Linked DNA regions of Homo sapiens: all the other regions are linked to region 3. Evidence: promoter capture Hi-C in 16 types of primary human blood cells and fetal thymus (Javierre and others, 2016). All regions are on one chromosome and are shown on one strand. Each heading gives the region's core, a stretch centred on a gene start or on the middle of the fragment in contact. The rest is flanking DNA. Distances are from core to core; before and after follow the strand shown. Region 1 overlaps ADCY8 (adenylate cyclase 8). Region 2 has its middle 290 kb from the start of ADCY8. Region 3 holds the start of EFR3A (EFR3 homolog A).

What was found. The method cuts DNA at HindIII sites, captures the fragments that hold promoters and counts their contacts. A CHiCAGO score of 5 or more calls a contact.
Region 1: a contact is called between a fragment that was not itself captured here and the fragment with the promoter of EFR3A in region 3, in 1 of 17 cell types (endothelial precursors). The highest score is 5.9, in endothelial precursors.
Region 2: a contact is called between a fragment that was not itself captured here and the fragment with the promoter of EFR3A in region 3, in 1 of 17 cell types (endothelial precursors). The highest score is 5.7, in endothelial precursors.

The regions. Positions count from the first base shown.
Region 1 is chr8:130,890,404-130,894,949 of GRCh38, reverse strand. All of the region lies in intron 7 of ADCY8 (adenylate cyclase 8), which reads left to right. The region is part of intron 2 of LOC124902068 (a long non-coding RNA gene); the gene reads right to left. Among named protein-coding and RNA genes, the nearest start is that of ADCY8, 150 kb to the left of the region's middle. The HindIII fragment of the contact is 1,367 bases long and covers 2,012-3,378 here.
Region 2 is chr8:130,748,418-130,752,782 of GRCh38, reverse strand. No RefSeq gene overlaps it. Among named protein-coding and RNA genes, the nearest start is that of ADCY8, 290 kb to the left of the region's middle. The HindIII fragment of the contact is 1,014 bases long and covers 1,997-3,010 here.
Region 3 is chr8:131,901,544-131,906,351 of GRCh38, reverse strand. EFR3A (EFR3 homolog A) reads right to left here and starts at 2,259. Exons shown (of 23, transcript NM_015137.6): 1 at 2,030-2,259. The coding sequence starts at 2,039. RefSeq lists an enhancer at 1,263-1,312 and a silencer at 1,883-2,362. The HindIII fragment of the contact is 8,534 bases long and covers 1-4,808 here.

The sequences.
Region 1 (4,546 bases), core at 1,446-3,945, 1.0 Mb after region 3:
TTTTATTGTTTGACACAGCGCAGTTCATATCGAGGAAGGTTTTTCTTTCCAAGCAAAATTGCATTTGATGTGAGTGAATTTTTATTCCCATTTTTCAAGTAATTTTATATGTGCCCTGACCCACCAGTTTTCCTGCTCTACACAAACACAAGGGTCTTCCCATTCTAAGGTGACTGAATTCTAGCCAGAGAAAAGATAACGGATATTTTTGTTGGCCTGAACAGCCACGGTACTTATATATGTACTTCTTTTTACTTCCCCTTGTGTCAAAAGAGACTTACAGTGGCTTATCTTCAGTAAGCATACAGTATGGATGGAAGTTTTTGCAAGGTCCTCTTCTATCTCAAGGATTCCCAAACTACTGTTGTGAATTTCAGGTTATGCACCACTAGATTTGGCAGTGTCTCTTCCCACTGTGTGACTTTTATGTTACCTTTAGTCCCCTAAAGAATCATGTCACACTGTGAGATAGTAAGGACTTTGGATACATTGTATGAAGTATCACCCACTCTGGACTTCATGTCTGGGGAAAACTTAAACACAGGACCACTGATAAGGGATAAGCCTGGAAATAAACACGCGGGATAATAAAAAACCAGAAAAGCTAAACCAATTACACCATTCTTATAGAAATGTGTGTGTTGGGAAAGTTAGGGTAAAAGGAAGTAGCAGGCACAACCCCAAAGAGGTAGCAATGTAGCTCTAACATAGACCGTTTCTTCTTTTCCCAGTTTTGCCCTGACACAACTGGTGAAAAGTAAGAGATGCTGGATTCTTGAAGGTCAGTAATTTGTTGCTCCATTGGAATTAAATTAAGGAAAGCATCAATAACTACATGTGATTAGTAAATTGTATAAGAGTGGTCTGAAAAAACTCATACTGAGAAATTTAAAACACCAAACATGAGCAATTTATCAGCAACCCAAGATGTGTAAGTTTTTCATCTGCCTAAATTAAAAGTTACTTCTGAACCTTCAAAGCTAAACATTTAAATAATTCTATTTCAATTTTCTCAAAATTTCTATTAAGAAAACACAACCACAACCACACACACAAACATGCACACCCGCAAACACACACATAAACATGCACACCCCAAAACACACAAACATGCACACCCACAAACACACACACGCATAAACATGCACACACACAAACATGCACACCCACAAACACACACACATAAACATGCACACACACATAAACTTGCACACCCACAAACACACACATAAACATGCACACACACACATATAAACATGCACACACACACACACACACACACACACACACACCTTCTTCTCCCCATGGTATTGACACCTCTAAAAAATCCACATCTTTGATGTTCACAAGAAAATGGAGTAACTTAGGTCTGGATATATGTTTGTTTATTCATTTCCTGAGCTAAAATTCTCCAGGTTGCCAACCCAAGGTCATTCAGTCAATGGGATAGTGGTCATCTCACCAACTACAGCCAATGACATTTCAACCCAGCTAATTCAGTGCTAGGAGATATTTCAATTCACACCTACCCTGTGGCCCTATGAACAAACCACCAATGTTTCAGTTTCTCTCTCCCCTACTTGTGAGTCCCATGTGAATCCTGGCAGAAATCTTGCCTCCATTCCTAGATCGTACCTTATCCCAGCACTTACACCATCCCTAATCTCGAGATGAAGTCCGTGCTGGAGTTTGCATATCTGTTCCACACATTACTACGGATGTGATACTTAAAAAGCTAAAAATTCAATTCAATTGACAATTTGCCTCAAATCATGTGGCGTCAAAGTGGTCGGATCTAAATGAGTGTGCCAAGTTCTGTTTCCGCCAATTCTGCAGAAGTTTAACAACATTTTTTGATTTTATAAAAATGACCCAAGTGTGTAATGTCTCAGACATAATCACATTTCCCAAACTGAGATGAGAATCTTCTTTTTAAGGAGCTCAAAGAATAATATCAGAGGCAAGCATCTAGGATTAGCTAATAGATTGGTGGAATAGAGTCAGGCAAGCTTCTCAGGCAGGAGGGAATCATTGTCAGACCCCACTTGACCCAAGTTAACCTGGCTGGATTCCTTAGGCCAGCTCTAAGGGACAAAATCTAGAATGTTGGTAATTCCCTCTGTGAGGTCTCAGTCTTCTTATCCTGAGAACTCTGCCCAATCACGGGGAATTGTGGTTGAACCTGGAGAGAAGCCACAGCGGACCACTTGCCCACATCACATCTCAAGAGAACCAGGAGAGTACATCTGTGTCTAAAGCCATGACCCAGGAGTAGGTTGAACTGAAGCAAGAGGTGAGGCATTTAATGCCAGGCAAAGCACACCAGGAAGACAGCCCAGGATTGTGCTTGGATATCCTGGGACCTAAACCCCCAAATGATTAAACTGTTTTCATGCTCCAGTTTACCAATATTAGTTGAAAGGCCAAGAGTGAGGTTGTGGGGTTCCAATGAGTAGCAAATGAGTAAGTGCCTAGTGTGGTATCAGCCAGAGTCGGGGCACCTGCCTTGTCATTGTTTTATTTTCTTCATCATAGACTGAAATTTCAGGACACCAAGGAACAAAAGTCAATCAAAGGATGTCACAGATCCCTTCATCCCTATCAAAGTTAGCATCCAGACAATAGTCGGAAACTTCCAATTCTGCCTAAAGATGGGAAGCAACGATTTCCCAAATGACCTGAGCCCCAGACTGACATTGTTTACTCATAACTGGGAAACCAGACAACAGAGGGGTGCTGAAATCCTACAGTAGGCTTATAGAAATGTCTAGGCTATTATTGCAACAGAATGGACATTCTGACCCCTGTTATATCGTTTCCTGGGGCAGAAGCTATGAGACTATTATGAAAATTATTTAAACCGCTTTCCATAGCAGAATCCCACAGACCTTCTCCCACAATAAGATCTCGTTAAACATTCATTTGCTTTTCTTGGAAAACAGATTACAGTGACATAAATATTCAAAAAATAAAAGGAAAAGTAAGCATGATTTCTAACTAAAAAAGCATCAAACAGATCATTTGGCTGTACTGTTTCATTTTCTCTTAGTATAGACAAGAAAAGTTGCAACAATCTTAACTAAGATACCTTGCTTATGGGAAATGGTCCTATTCACTAGCACCTCCACTCCCATAAGAAGGAAAACTTGTTATAAGACAGGGTCTTGGAGATCTCATGTGGATATTTTATCAAGGGCTCCCCAAGTCAATGTTTACTCAAATACCACTTAGCATTTTCTTACTAGGAAAATATTTCATCTCATATCTCCCCATTCCCAGATTTGAGGGAAAAAAATTGTGCCATTTTCAAACATAACAAGCATTCTCCTCCCTGAGGTCCTCAATGCAAACCATTGTAGACTAGATCACCTTGAAGCTTTCCCAAGGTATGAGCTTTCTTAAGAAGAATAAATGATAAGTATTTAAGATGATGGGTATATTAACTAGGTTAATCTAATCATTGTACAACATATTCGTATATCATATCACAATGTACCACATAATTGTATATTATTATAATCTGTCAAAAAAAGAACACAAAATGACTCTTTTTAAAGTAGAAGCCTTCTCTTCCAGGGGTTGGGTTGGCATTTTAACAAACAGTAGAGAAAGAATCGCTGTAATGTGCACTGTTGAGGTACTCTTACTTAGGCTCACTGTTTTTCCTGTGTCTTGTAGGACATAGGAAGTTCATAAGAACTGAAAGGTGGAACCTCTGCCTTTTCCACAACCCAAAGGCTGCAGGCATCAAGTTTAAAATAGAGGTACAGAGGCTTCCAAGTTAGGCACAGAAACATGCTGCCACAGGGGTAATGGAAGCGTGCTCCCAGAATAGGTTGGGGAAACTACTGGCCCTACCTACTTCTGAATGAAGATTCCAGCCTGAAACTGAAAATAAGCAGAGTCTTTGGGAAAGGTTAGGACATCTCAGCATGAAAGACAGAAGCTGCACAGCTGTGCCTTGAGATTGCTGAGCCTGGCGTTCTCGCTAGGTCTTTTCCATATCAGCAATGAGTTGGCCCACACTGTGAGACCTCAGTCACAACTACTATAGCTAAATCTAAAGACTACCACATCTGCCTTGTCCAGGAGCTAATAAAGAATAAAGTGCTTTCACTAGTGACCTTAACCTCCTTCCACAACTGGCTCATGGAGAACACACAAACTGAAGTTAGCCCAGGTGCTGGTCCCAGAAAAGGCTCAAGGTTACCCCTTGCCAGCCTGTGGTCTCTGGTGCTCTAGCAGCCAGCACTGGGAAGTAGTAATGGGAGTGACATTCTCTGGATCCCAAAAGTCTGAATAAAACCTCACATTGACAAGCGTCACTAGGCTGCCTTTAAAGGCCCTTGCTCTTGGCTGGAATATTAACTGCATTGGTAGTGCCTTTTATCTCATGCTGAGAAAAACTAGGCATTTGATCAAATAGCAGGAAAATAAACTACTTCTTATTTAATACAGTTTGGTAAACAGAATCTTTCCAAAATTTGAAGTCCATTTGGGAGAGAACAGAAAAAAACTAAAGGGACTTTTGCAGTGAAAGACCAGA
Region 2 (4,365 bases), core at 1,254-3,753, 1.2 Mb after region 3:
AAACTAACTTACAAAATAAAGAAAGAAAATCACTTCTGATAATGGTAAGCACTTTGAAGAAGCATGAGAGAATGTGGGGGCTACCTTAAGTGGGAAAGTCATCCCTGGGGAGGTTATATTTTGAGCTCAAACCTGAAGGAACAAGCCATGATAACCACACCAGTCTCAAAATGAGGTGGTAGACAAGGATTCCTGATCAACTGCTGTACGAATCCGAGGTGGTGCTGTTATATGTTCCAAATGCTGGCATCTGGCCCACACCCCACCCTGACTCCTTGTCCCCACCCCCAGGGCCCCAGTGATCTGAGACTGGGGCACTGGGCATAGGGATAGGTGGGTGTTTACACAGCTTGATATGGTTTGGCTCTGTGTCCCCACTCAAATCTCATCTTGAATTGTAATCTCCACATGTCACGGAAGGGACATGGTGGGAGGTGACTGGATCATAAGGGCAGTTTCCCCCATGCTGTTATCGTGATAGTAAGTGAGTTCTTATGAGATCTGATGGTTTTATAAGGGTCTTCCCCCTTTGTTCTCTTTCTCTTTCCTGCTGCCTTGTGAAGAATGTACTTGCTTCTCCTTCCCCATCCTCCACAATTGTAAGTTTCCTGAGGCCTCCCCAGCCATGTGAAACTGTGAGTCAATTAAACCTCTTTCCTTTATAAATTATCCAGTCTCAGGTATTTCTTTACAGCAGTATGAGAACAGGCTAATACAGGAAATTGGTACTGGAAGTAGGCATTGCTATAAAGATAACCTAAAAATGTGGAAGCAAATTTGGAATTGGGTAATGGGCAGAGGTCAGAACAGTTTGGAGGTCTCAGAAGAAGACAGGAAGATGTGGGAAAATCTGGAACTTCTTAGAGACTTGTTGAATAGTTTTGACCAAAATGCTGACAGTGACATGGACAATGAAGTCCAGGCTGAGGTGGTCTTAGGTGGAGATGAAGAACTTATTGGGAATTGGAGCAAAGGTCACTCTTGCTATGCTTTAGCAAAGAGACTGGCAGCATTGTGTCCCTGCTGTAGAGAACTGTGAAATTTTGAACTTGAGAGAGTTGATTTAGGGTATCTGGCAGAAGAAATTTCTAAGCAGCAAAGTGTTGAAGAGGTGGCTTGGATGCTCTTAACAGTGTACAGCAATATGTGCTCGCAAAGAGATAGCTTGAAATTGGAACTTATGTTTAAAAGGGAAGCAGAGCATAAAGGTTTGGAAAATGTGCAGCTTGACCATGTGGTAGAAAAAAAACTCATTTTCTGTGGAGGAATTCAAGCTGGTGGCAGAAATTTGCATAAGCAACAAGGAGCCAAATGTTAATAGCCAAGTCAATGGGGAAAATGTCTCCAGGGCATGTCAGAGCCCTTCAGAGCAGCCCCTCCCATCACAGGCCCAGAGGCCTAGGTTTCATGGGCCATGCCCAGGTCCCCATTGCTCTGTGAAGCTTTGGGACTTGTTGCCCTGCATCCCAGTCACTCCAGTTCCAGCCATGGCTAAAAGGAGCCAAGGTACAGCCCAGACCACTGCTATCCACAGCCCAGTACTACATAGAAGCTTTGGCAGCTTGCATGTGGTGTTGGGCCTGTGGGTAGACAGAAGACAACAGTTGAGTTTTGGGAACTTCTGCTCAGATTTCAGAGGATGTATGGAAACACCTGAATGTCTAGGCAGAAGTCTGCTGCCGGGGCAGAGCCCTCATGGAGAACCTCTGTTAGGGCAGTGTGAAAGGGAAATGTGGGGTTGGAAGCCCCACACAGTTTCCCCACTGGGGCACTGCCTAGTGGAGCTGTGAGATGAGGTCTACCATCCTCCAGACCCCCGAAAGGTAGATCCACTGAAAGCTTGCACCATGCACTTAGAAAAGCCACAGGCACTCAATGCCAGGCTATACCCTGCAGACCCACAGGGGTGGAGCTTCCCAAGGCTGTGGGAGCCCACCCTTTGCATCAGCATGCCCTGGATGTGAGACACGGAGTCAAAGGAGATCATTTCAAAGCTTTAAGATTTAATGACTGCCCCACTGGGTTTCAGACTTGCATGGGGCCTGTGGCCCCTTCGTTTTGATCAACTTCTTCCATTTAGAACAGGAACATTCACCCAGTCCCTGTACCTCAATTGTATCTTGGCAGTAACTAACTTGTTTTTTATTTTACAGGCTCATAGGTGGAAGGAACTTGTCTTGTCTCAAAAGTTTTTGACTTTTAACTGAAAAGTCCAAGTCTAAAATGAGACTTTGGTGTTAATGCTAGAATGAGTTAAGACTTTGGGGGATAGCTGGGAAGGAATGATTGGTTTTGAAGTGTGAAAAGGACATGAGATTTGGGAGGGGCCAGAGGCAGAATGATATGGTTTGGATCTGTGTCCACACCCAAATCTTATCTCGAATTGTAATCCCCATGTGTGGAGGGGAGGAATTTGGTGAGAGGTGATTGGATCATGGGGGTGGTTTCCGCCATGCTGTTCTTTTGATAGTGAGTGAGTTCTCATGAGATCTGATGGTTTGATAAGGGGCTTGACAGTTCCCCTCTAATGCTTTCTCCTGCTGCCATGTAAGACACCCCTTGCTTCCCCCTCAACTTCCGCCTCAATTGTAAGTTTCCTGAGTCCTCCCCAGCTATGTGGAACTGTGAGTCAATTAAACCTCTTTTCTTCATAAATTACCCAGTTTCAGGTAGTGTCTTTATAGCAGTGTGAAAACGGATTAATACACAGCTCTACTAGATGGAGGCCCAAAAGGCACCTCCTGCACATGCTGCCCCTTCTCACCCAAGCAGCACCAGGCCTCTATAAAAAGGATTCATAACTAGGCTCCGCACAGGCCCACAGTTCTGAAGCTCAAGGAGCAGTGACAGCTCTGCTTCCTAATGCAGGGACAAGCAATCAGGAAATCTGCAGAGGCCTTCAGCACGGCAACAGCCTTGTCCAGGGGACACGCTTTCCTTTGCTGCCATCTTCTGGTCAGACTGGGGAACAGAAGCCTGAAGTGAGAGGTTCTTCTTCTCCAAGGAAGCTTAACTAACACCAGAACGACTTGGAGCTGTTCTAGGTGCTGGTGCTGGTGCTGGAGACAAAGCAGAGGACTAAACAGGCAAAAGTCCCTGCCCTCCTGGAGTTTATATTCCAGCTGGCTGTCTCAGATGCAGCTACATGAAGGCTGAGTCATTCCTGTTTGACGGAGGAAATGATGAGGTATAAAGAGGTAAAATATTGGCCCAGACCACACAGCTTGCAAGTGAAAAAGCAGAATTTGAAGAAAGTTTCCTTTGCGTAACACCCTCTTGCCTCCCTGTAAGCCTGTCAAGAGGATAGGAGGTTGGCTCCGAGTAGGTGTGATGGAGGCAAGTGGCAAAGCCTGAGAGAGTGACAATGTGCTGAAGGAAAGAGCCCTAGGCCAGGACTCTGGAGACCTGACTTCGGGTCTTGGCCCTAGCACTTTCTAGCTGTGTGACCTTAAACAAAACAGTAAGTGTCTCTGGTCATCTGCAAAATGGGCATAATGAGACCTATGTTACCTATGGTTTCTTCATCCCACCACCAACTTATATTAATACCTGTCATGTGTGGGTGGCCATCTACTAGAAGTTGGGGTCACAAGGCTGGTAAAGTCTTTATCCCCCTCTAGTCCTCTCTCCCGTGTTGAGACACAGCCTTCAGGCTTCCAGCACTCTACAGTTCCCCTCTTTCCTGCTCTTTACAGCTGTGGTCACTTTGGTCCCCCAAGTTTCTCCCATCTGGCTGCCTCCTCCTGTCCTCACATCTGTACTTGAAGTGGTCCCCATGGTCAGTCAATGTAACAACACTACCCTTCTCCCTCTCTTGCCCCAGCCAGAAGTTGTGAAATGGCAACACCAGCAAAACTATTCTAACTGAAACCTCCTATTTCCAAATGCCCCAGACCTTCTAATTACCTACGGGCTCTATCTGATATGTGGCCTCCTTTCTCTGTCCCTATTGCCATGGCACTCTTAAGCTGCTGACTTCTGTTTCATTTCTTCCCCAGATTTGCTTCTAGCAGAAGCTGTCTACCTTCTGTGTCTCCACTGCCTTACCATTGGACTCTCCAGGCTGACTTCTGTCCTCACCTCATCTGTGATGGTTAATACTGAGTGTCAACTTGATTGGACTGAAAGTATTGATCCTGGGTGTGTCTGTGAGAGTGTTGCCAAAAGAGATTAACATTTGAGTCAGTGGGCTGGGGAAGGCAGATCCACCCTTAATCTGGTGGGCACAATCTAACCAGCTGCCAGGGAATATAAAGCAGGAAGAAAAATGTGAAAAGGAGAGAGTGGCCTAGCCTCTCAGCCTACATCTTTCTCCCATGCTGGGTGCCTCCTGCCCTCGAACATCGGACTCCAAGTTCTTCACTT
Region 3 (4,808 bases), core at 1,010-3,509:
AACAAAAACACTTAGCTTATCTGAGCACAGTTTTCCTCCTAAGAGCTGTGAACTTCCTCCTAAATTCCTACAGAGAATAACAATTTTGCCATCTCTGTGTTGGATATATATTCTACAAACAGAATTTCAAAGAAATATTGTTGTCCACTGCACTATCCCAGCAATTTCGGCAGCTGTGACTGCCAAAGGAGAGAAAAGGCAAATATGAACACTATTCACCTCACACTGGTACCCCCAATCAATCCACAGCACATTTTTATTCAGTCATAAAAAATGTACCATGACAAATATTAACAATGACAGATAAAACAAACATTTCACTTGTCTTCCAGTCAGGGTGTGAAATCTGCATTCTTAACTATGTAAACTCCACCATGGCCCATCCTAAAATCATTTTGCAGAATGAACTCAACATTTGAAAAGAAACGAGTTTACTATATCCACTCTGTGAAGCTAGATAACCCTAGAACATAACTAAAAATTTTATTTCACAGGATAATTCTGGCATGTTACCAATAAATTCTACTTGAAGCCTCAACTTTCAATAGGTGCTTACCTCCTCCCCTTTGGTTTCTCAGAAAATAAAAGATTAGCATAGTGCTAGTCTCAGATATTCACTGAATAACGTGAACATGAATTTAGAAGTACTAAACTGGCAATAACAATGAAGATGATTGTAAATGATATTCCTCCAGCCAAAAGGAATAAAACAGAAATTTAAACTGGACATATTTACTGGATGCGAAGTCCAAGAACGTGAGTTAAGGACACACAGTAGTGTGTGAAGAAAACAAAATCCACAGTACCCACACATGTATGAGGAGTTAAAAGTAATCTCTACATCAGGACTATGTAAAGATTTGCCACAGGAAAATCTTTAAATCTCAAAAAGATATTTAAATATCTTTAATATCAATTTAAATTTAATATCCTTAAATATCAGGAAAATATCAATCTTTATAATATCAAGAAATAACTCATCTTTTCCCACCACTAGACGAAACGTGCATTGGAGACTGACCTGGAAATTCAGCGTCCCAGATGGCTACAAAACAAGGACAACTAGAAGTAGTTATGAATTCTAGGAAATATATTCACAAGTGTGTAAAGATTCTATAGTATTGAACACTTAGTCAAAGGAGTCCTACTTGAATTCTCAAATCAATGACAAAGTTGCTTCCTCTCTACCCAAGATCAGGAGCTTCCCTAGTTTGCACATATCCACATTGACCAGTGGCTATAAAGTCACACTGCGATTATCTGGGTCATTTTAAAATAGGTCATTAGCAGTACTTGTAGTATCGCGTCTGTCTAAAAATCCTCCAACACCGAGTGACTTTTAAACTTTGGGGTGCCTTGGTAACCCCAGGGACGCTTATTAGACATGCAGACTCCGGGGCCCAAGCTCCAGACTAATTCCATGGGAATAGGGCGGGTCCCGAAACCGGCATTTTTAATCATCTGCCCGGGTGAATCCGAAGTGTGGTCCAAAAGCCACAGTCGAGGTGCCTCTGCCTAACAAGCTCCACAGAAAGCTCCGACTTCAGCCGCCCCGACGGCGATACGGACGCCGAGTTAGGCTGTCGGGGGTCTGTCTGGCGGCCGCGGGAAGGGACTCGGGGCCGGCGCGTCCACTAGCGACGTCCGGCCCGAGGTGAGAAGGGACTGACAATGGTACCGCAGTTATTTTCAATATTTCCATAAAGTCCCACGAAGCCGTGTGGCCGTGGGAAAAGGGCTTTAACTTTGAAATCCCACGGGTCAGGTTACCACCAGCTCTGCCGCCTCCTAACAGCGCGTCCCCGCAGTTCCCTTAACGTTCGGGCCTCAGTTTCCCGATCCGTGCAACGGGCTCACGCCATCTCCGGAAGGCTAAGCCGAAACGAAACTAACTCCGCCGCTCGCAGACACTTCCTGGCTCTGCTCAGCGCGGCCCAGCCTCCCCAGCCGCCCGGGAGGAGTACCCGGCCCAAGCGCGTCGCGCAGGCAGTCGCCTCCCAACGCCCCCGGCCCTCGGCCGGCCACTCACGGGTAGGCATGGCGATCTCGACCGCGCTCGCCGCCGCACCGAGGCTCAGCGGGGCCGCGCAGGGAGCGCCGACGGCACCATGACGGCCGTTGCTGGGCCGCGGAGGCCGGAACGAGGCGAAGGGCGAAGGGCGAAGGGTGGAGGGAGCGGACGCGGACCCCGCGGTCACGCAACCAAGCGGGCGACAGCTACCGCCGCCAGCCCACTCCTCGCCGGGCGGCGCGACGGACGACCCACGCCCGTTACGTCAGCGCGCCGCCGCCGTCCCGGCCCCGCCCCCGCGGATGGCCGGGCTCGGCCCAGGATCCCTTGTCGAGCGGGTGGAATGGGTGGCTGGGGACAGCCACGTAGAACAACTTCGGGTGCCTTCTATTTTCCAAGCCTGGTGACCTGCGTGGCATTCGTTTTCCTTGATCTCTATTTGGAGTGCATCACTTTACGTTTGTGAGGATGATGGCTTTGAGCGCACGGAGTACCTGTGGGCTTTTTCTTTTGCAATCGGTTTAACTTGCAGTGCGTTTTGCATACTCTGAAAGCATGGTTTATTTGAGATGCACTAAGGTCATTTGGGGTGATGGCTGCTCATTTTTTGAGAGGGCAGAAAATGTAATTTCCTTTTGCTCTTGTGACTTTCAGAGCGACCTTATCCCTCAGGAGTTAGTCTCCTCTGGAGAGGGCAGCTCTGTGCACTTGGCTGAGCTACTCTTCTTGACTCTGGGTGTCATTAATAATTGAGGTATCTAATAGTCACCAAGCTGAGCAGACACCGGGAGCCAGAGAGCTGAGCAACGCACCTACACTATGCTAGGCGCCGTGGGCTGCGGACAGCCCATATGGAGATATAAAAGCCAACCGCAGAGGTTTAACACAGCCTTCCTCAAAGTGGGTCAAAGTGGTCCAGGATCCTTTTGTGCTTGGATCCCCTGGGGACTTGTTGAAAAGCAGATTCCTAGGTGCTGAGCCAAATCTACGAACACATATACAGATGATTTAAATACAATGATAATACTGAGAACCTTTGTCCTAAAAAGTAGGGCTAACCTTCTGATTAAGAAATGATATTGTGCAGTACTGGGAGGAGAAGATGAAGAACATGAAGATCAGAGCTAGGAAGCGCTGAGGAGAAATTAGTCTTGGCTTGAGGTGGACTTGGAAGAAAGCAGAATTTGAATTAGCAAAGCCTAGGGGAGTCCTAAAAGAGGCTGGGGAGAGGATGAAGGGTAATTTAGAGTGAGTCATGGCAGCTGGGGAGAGGAGAGTGTGTACTGTACCTATAAAAGAGACTGTCCAGCTGGGAACGGTGGCTCACGCCTGTAATCCTAACACTTTGGGAGACCGAGGTGGGCGGTGGGCAGATCACCTGAGGTCAGGAGTTCGAGATCAGCCTGGCCAACATGGCGAAACCCTGTCTGTACTGAAAATGCAAAAATTAGGCGGGGGTGGTGGCACATGCCTATATTCTCACTCAGCTACTTGGGAAGCTGAGGAAGGAGAATCGCTTGAACCCAGGAGACGGAGTTTGCAGTGAGCCGAGATCGGGCCACTGGACTCTAGCCTGGGCTACAGAGCAAGACTCCATCTCAAAAAAAAAAAAAAAAAAAGAGAGACTGTCCCTTGCTAACAGTAAAGACCAAACTACCTAGTGCTTATTCATGTTTTAATGCCCTGTTGCATATTTTATCACCTATAAAATCTTTCATGCTTCCAGTTTTCTCCCTAAGACTTTGGCATTATCTTGATTCCTCTCTGCTACAGCACTTTTCTCACTGCATCCTAAATAAACTGTCATGAGTGCTTGTGTTTTACCATGGGCCTATTTGCTTTTCAGAAAATGGCAAAAGCCATATTCTGTTCATGTTTATGTATCCTTGGCTGGCACACAGGTGGGGGCCAGAGTATATTAATTCAATATATAAATAAAGGATTTTATTCAAGAGTATGAAAACAAAAACAGGTAAATAAAACTGATAAACAACTTTACATTCAACCTTGGAATTTGTCTTTTAAGAAACTGTTCTGTGATTTTTACAAAAAGCATAACAGTAACATTAAATTATCAGAAGCAGGGCCTTGCAGGGGGAATGGTGTGGCAGAGAAACTGTGGAGGTAGGCAGCCAAATCGGAAGGCCCCAATACAGGAGAGAGTGTTAGGTGCTCAGTCTTGGTGGTGGCTGTGGAAAAAGAAAGAACTGAATCTTACTTTGGAAAAGAATCCCTGGATTTGTTGGCTGCTGACTTGGGAGCAATAGAGAGGCATCTGTTAGTTATGTAACTCCAAGGTTGGAACAAGGAAAGTGGTGGTGCTGGAGAGCAGTAGACCAGTCAGGAAGAAATGCTGTTTTAGGGAAGGGGTGTGAAGAAAGGTGTGAGTTTCTCCTTGACATATTGAGCTTGAGGTGGTATCAGAGGGAGACATCCGAGTGAATGAATCTGAAGGCAGCTGGGCAAGCCAGGATGAAGGTGGGCTGAGGGACCTCAGGGTGGGAGATTTGGAAATCTTTGGTCCCGGGACAGGAGCTGAAGCTGGGTGTCAAAGAGAGCCCTTTTAGGGAAGATGTGGAGGCAGTGAAGGCACAGAGAGACGAGATCCACAGGATACAGTGCCCCAGGAGCCAAGGGAAGACATGACTCCAAAAGGCAGACATCTCTGCTTACATTACCTTGAAAAAGATGCAGATCCCAAAGGCCCTGAAATTGTCCTGCACATACTGGTTGTTTTTTTGTTTGTTTGTTTTTCATTTCTTTCTGTTTTTAATCCTCTTGGTCTTTTGGTTTTGTA